Regions from separate parts of the Homo sapiens genome. Here region 2 is linked to region 1. Evidence: promoter capture Hi-C in 16 types of primary human blood cells and fetal thymus (Javierre and others, 2016). All regions are on one chromosome and are shown on one strand. Each heading gives the region's core, a stretch centred on a gene start or on the middle of the fragment in contact. The rest is flanking DNA. Distances are from core to core; before and after follow the strand shown. Region 1 holds the start of C2orf68 (chromosome 2 open reading frame 68). Region 2 overlaps IMMT (inner membrane mitochondrial protein).

Region 1 (2,826 bases), core at 234-2,733:
TCGTGTGGCTGGACCACCATTGGTCCCTGTTTTTTGTTTTTGTTTTTTGTTTTTTGATTTGGAGGTTGGACTGCAGTGGCTCGATCTCGGCTGACTGCAACCTCCGCCTCCCGGGTTCAAGCGATTCTCCTGCCTCAGCCTCCCAAGTAGCTGGGATTACAAGCACCGGCCATCAAGCCCAGCTAATTTTTTGTATTTTTTTTTAGTAGAGACGGGGTTTCACCATTTTGGCCAGGCTAGTCTCGAACTCCTGACCTCTTGATCTGCCCGCCTGGGCCTCCCAAAGTGCTGGGATTACAGGCGTGAGCCACCACGCCCGGCTCTTTCTTTCTTTTTTAATGTATTTTTTTCTTGTAGAGACGATGTCTCGCTGTGTTGCCCAGGCTGGTCTCAAATTCCTCCCTCCAGCGATACTCCCACTTCGGCATCCCAAAGTTTTGGAATTACAGACATGAGCCACTGCATCCAGCCGTTTGTCCCTGTCCTAATCATGAATTCCTGATTTTGACTTTTGTAAAAGGACTTGAGAATTTTACACGCTGTGACGTGAACCCAGTGGTCAGAAAAAATAGAAAAAAAAAAAAAAGGGGCCGGGCACGGTGGCTCATGCCTGCAATCCCAACACTTTGGGAGGCCGAGGCAGGCGGATCACCTGAGGTCAGGAGTTCGAGACCAGCCTGGCCAACGTGGTGAAACCTTATCTCTACCAAAAATACAAAACTTAGCCGGGCGTGGTGGCACGCGCATGTAGTCCCAGCTACTCGGGAGGCTGAGGCAGGAGAATCGCTTGAACCCGGGAGGCGGAGGTTGCAGTGAGCCGAAATCACGCCAATGCACTCCAGCCTGAGCGACAGAGTGAGACTCCTTCTCAAAAAGAAAAAAAAAAGGAAAAATAAATAAAAAAGAAAATAATACACCCGTAGGTCCCTCAAAAACCCTGGGTCCTCCCGCGGGGACAGTTAAGCCATCGGCGCCGTGAGCAGGAGGCAAGCCGGGCCAGGAGAGCCTTCGCGGCGCCTGCGGCCTGGGCGCCGCTGTTGCCCTGCCTGAGCACTTCAAGGCCTCACAATCCATTTGAGGTAGGTGCTCTAGGTGTTCCCATTTACTAATGAGGAAACTGAGAAGTGGCAGCGTTACACAGTCAGCCAAAGTCACGCAGATGGCGATGGATTGCACAGCATCCTATTACCAGAAAAAAGATGGGAAGGCACCGCCGTAAGCATCGAGTTGTGTTATAGATGATTTGCATTTTTCTGAAGGTTCTGGTATCAGCTGTAAGCCGAAGTCCTTGTTTCCTATTGATATGTTACGAAAAAACAAACAAAAAAAAACAAAAACAAAAGCCCTCCGTCCGGGGGGTGGAAGTCAAGCATACCCTACTCCACCCGACCCGACCAGACCCGAAAACTCCGTGCGCTGCATCGCTTGGCCAGGCCGGGGCCTCCCAGACCGGAAGTCAGGATGCGGGGCCGGAAGCTGAGCAAGGGGCGGCGCGGAGCTCTGTGGGCGGGTGGCTGTTGTTGGGGCCGTCGAGGCGGCGGCGACTCTGCGTCCCCGGCTCCTGATGGAGGCGGGGCCGCATCCCCGGCCGGGGCACTGCTGCAAGCCTGGGGGGCGGCTGGACATGAACCACGGCTTCGTGCACCATATCCGACGGAACCAGATCGCTCGGTACCGCCCCGCCCTGCGCCGCCGCCGCCACCACTCCTGGCCTGGCCTGGCCCGGCCCGACAGTCCCTGACTCCCGCTCGGCTCCCCGCAGGGACGACTATGACAAGAAGGTGAAGCAGGCGGCCAAGGAGAAGGTGAGGAGGCGGCACACGCCCGCGCCGACGCGGCCCCGCAAGCCAGACCTGCAGGTGTACCTGCCGCGACACCGAGGTGAGGCCGCCCGCCCCGCCTGCCTCCAGCCCGCGCGCTCTTCCTGCAACGCACTCCCCTTCTCTATAGGGAAAAACCACTTCTTACTCCTAAGGTTCAGCTCATCTCGTCTCTTTCCGGAACCTCCACCTCAGCGCTCCCAAATCTCCGCTGAATGATTCTCACCAAGAACTGGGACGACTCATAAGCCCCCAGTTAAGCATCGCTGTCAGAGTATCGGGGAGCCAGCAAGAAGTTTATCTGCCGGTTTGCCCCACCGTGCTGTATTTTAGTAAGGTGCTCCGCTACCTAGCAAAGAGAAAGTCTGGCACAGCGATGAGCGACCAGCACATAATTGCGGAATGAACCCAGTAAATGGCCTTTCCCCAGCTTCTCTGCTACCTAGAGATCACACTGGTTAATATATGACGGTCAATTTTTGTTAAGCATTATTACTTTTTTTAAAATGTTTTTATTTTATTTTTGAGACTAGGTCTCTGTCGCCCAGGCTGGAGTGCAATGGTGCGATCTGGGCTTACTGCAGCCTTAGCCTCCCGAGTACCTGGGACCACAGGCGTGTGCCACCACACCGGTTAATTTTGGTATTTCTTGTAGAGAAGGGGTTTCCCCGGCTGGGCGCGGTGGCTCTCGCCTGTAATCCCAGCACTTTGGGAGGCCGAGGCGGGCGGATCACGAGGTCAGGAGATCGAGACCATCCTGGCTAACATGGTGAAACCCCCGTCTCTACTAAAAATACAAAAAATTAGCCGGGCGTGGTGGTGGGCGCCTGTAGTCCCAGCTACTCGGGAGGCTGAGGCAGGAGAATGGCGTGAACCCGGGAGGCGGAGCTTGCAGTGAGCCGAGATCGCGCCACTGCACTCCAGCCTGGGCAACACAGCAAGACTCGGTCTCAAAAAAAAAAAAAAAAGAGAGAGAGAGAAGGGGTTTCTCCACGTTGTCCAGGCT
Region 2 (2,826 bases), core at 176-2,675, 550 kb before region 1:
CTCAGGAGGCTGAGGCAGGAGAATCGCCTGAACCCAGGAGGCGGAGGTTGCAGTGAACTGAGACGGTGCCACTGCACTCTAGCCTGGGCGATAGAGTGGGACTCCGTCTCCAAAAAAAAAAAAAAAAACAAAAAACAAAAAACCGGGCACGGTGGCTCACGCCTGTAATCCCAGCACTTTGGGAGTCCAGGGTGGGCGGATCATGGGGTCAGTAGATGGAGACTATCCTGGCTAACATGGTGAAACCCCGTCTCTACTAAGAAATACAAAAAAATTAGCTGGGCGTGGTGGTATGCACCTGTAGTCCCAGCTACTCGGGAGGCTGAGGTAGGAGAATGGCGTGAACCCGGGAGGCGGAGCTTGCAGTGAGCCGAGATCGCGCCACTGCACTCCAGCCTGGGCGACAGAGCGAGACTCTGTCTCAAAAAAAAAAAAAAAAAGAAGTGTAATAAAGCTTCATAGATTTATCATCCAGACTAAATTATCAGTATTTTACCATGTTTTCTTTTTTTTTTTTGAGAGAGTCTCGCTCTGTCGCCCAGGCTAGAGTGCAGTGGCATGATCTCGGCTCACTGCAAGCTCCACCTCCCAGGTTCAAGCGATTCTCCTGCCTCAGCCTCCCAGGTAGCTGGAACTACAGGCACCCGCCACCATGCCTGGCTAATTTTTGTATTTTTAGTAGAGACGGGGTTTCACCACATTGGTCAGGTTGGTCTCAAACTCCTGACCTTGTGATACGCCCGCCTCGGCCTCCCAAAGTGCTGGGATTACAGGCATGAGCCACTGCGCCCGGCCTTTACCATACTTTTAAGTGAAACTTTGATTCCCTAAATTTGAGTCTCATGTATTTTGTTCCTTTTTAAATTTTTTGGGAAATGCAATGGAAGACTAGATAGGAGAACAGCAAAAGTTTAAAGTCATTTATGGGGGTAGGATTTGTTTTTTAACTGTTCTTTTTTTTTTTTAAGCTCTAGCCAAGAGCTTAGAAGATGCTCTGAGGCAAACTGCAAGTGTCACTCTGCAGGCTATTGCAGCTCAGAATGCTGCGGTCCAGGCTGTCAATGCACACTCCAACATATTGAAAGCCGCCATGGACAATTCTGAGGTGAGCCCAATGAATGATTAGAAGTGTTCTGGCTGTCATGACTTGGAGGACAAAAAGAAAAATCGAGGGTGGAGAGAAGTGTAATATTTAACAGACTGCTTTCTTCCGTATGATATCGGCTTTCTCTCACTAGGGGAAGATAGTCTGGAATAATTAATCTTTTTTTGTTATTGTTTTGAGACGGAGTCTTGCTCTGTCGCCCGGGCTGGAGTCCAGTGGTGCGATCTCGGCTCATTGCAACCTCCACCTCCCAGGTTCAAGCGATTCTCCTGCCTCAGCCTCCCGAGTAGCTGGGATTACAGGCTCCCGCCACCATACCCGGCTAATTTTTGTACTTTTAGTAGAGACAGGGTTTGCCATTTTGGCCAGGCTGGACTGGAACTCTTGACCTCAAGTGATTTGCCTGCCTCGGCCTCCCAAAATGTTGGGATTACAGGCGTGAGCCACTGTGCTTGGCCTTAGAGTAATTATGTTTAAAAAACAAACTGAAAAAAGCCTTTAAGTTTTTTAGAATGAATTTTATACATTGTGCTTTACTATATCTTACAACACCGATGCAGCGCAAGAATTAGTTCAGATTTGCTTTCATATTTTAATAGCACTTAAATATTTTTGTTGTTTGCTTTAAAATTGCTATTTCCATAGGTAAACTTTTTAAGATACTTCTCAAACTTCACATGCAGTTTTAAGAAATAATACAGAGAGCTCTCATGTTCCCTGAAACACCTGCTATTTTAAATGTTTATGATTATTTATGCGAAACACTTCAAAGAATGAAGTAATAACATTGATTTTTCAAAATTTAATACTGGGACTTAATACATTATTTTATAATTACATTAAGTTATTCAGTATGTATAAATGTATCTCTATTCCAAGTCATTTAAGGAGTAAATTAAAGTAAAATGCATAAATTATTAATCTTAAGGATCAGGATCATACATGGTCAGTAAAGTTACTTTGCCATCATAATTGTAGTTTTAAAAAAAATTTTACACACACTTTACATTGTTTCAGTCGTATGTACTTATATTACAAAAGAGTTTAATTAGACCTCTGATGTTAGTAGCAAGAAACTACAACCTTTGAAATTTTAAGGAAAATTCCATTTTATTCAAAGTCCAAGAAAAATACTTAAATATCAGAGTTCAGTCAGCAAAGTGGAAACCACCCAGGAAATTTAATTTGCTGGTTACCGATATGGGAAGGCTAGAAGTTGCGTGATGTAAGGGTGTTGGGTTCAAACCCAAGTAGACCAGTATCCCTCAGAAGGACACGGATTGGAAGCTTTAAATGCCATGTTACTACTTGGGTATAAGGGTACACAAGGTGGTATTTCATCTTCCTAACGCACATAATGTGTAGCACATGGTGATTAGACAGTGTAAAATCTATTGCAGTCAAGATTTTACAATCTAATGGTAGCAGTTAACAGATGAGAGTATTAGCTAATGTACAAAATAATTGGAAAAATGTATGAACACATTTTGGAATGTTAAGAATGAATTCCAGCTTTTGTTTTTTCTAGTACAAGAAGCTACAGGTGCACATGTAATTTCTAATATATACTGAATAACTTTCACAAAGCAGTGTTTGTGAAGAGTTGGATTTGGTAATACTAGGATTTAGTTTGGTTGTAGGGGAATCTGTGTCTGTTACAGGGTAGGTTTTCCTTGGACTTCTGTAAGCAGGAGTACCTTCAACAAGGGTGATAAATTTTG

What was found. The method cuts DNA at HindIII sites, captures the fragments that hold promoters and counts their contacts. A CHiCAGO score of 5 or more calls a contact.
Region 2: a fragment that was not itself captured here is called in contact with the fragment with the promoter of C2orf68 in region 1 in 2 of 17 cell types (erythroblasts and monocytes); the score reaches 5.9 in erythroblasts.

What each region holds. Positions count from the first base shown.
Region 1 is chr2:85,610,723-85,613,548 of GRCh38, reverse strand. C2orf68 (chromosome 2 open reading frame 68) reads left to right here and starts at 1,483. Exons shown (of 4, transcript NM_001013649.4): 1 at 1,483-1,671; 2 at 1,763-1,881. The coding sequence starts at 1,565. It also overlaps a transcript of USP39 not described here. RefSeq lists silencers at 983-1,155, 1,642-1,711, 1,331-1,712 and an enhancer at 1,142-1,371. The HindIII fragment of the contact is 26,854 bases long and covers 1-2,826 here.
Region 2 is chr2:86,164,787-86,167,612 of GRCh38, reverse strand. It overlaps IMMT (inner membrane mitochondrial protein), which reads left to right. Exons shown (of 15, transcript NM_006839.3): 7 at 969-1,105. Among named protein-coding and RNA genes, the nearest start is that of MIR4779, 27 kb to the left of the region's middle. The HindIII fragment of the contact is 1,938 bases long and covers 457-2,394 here.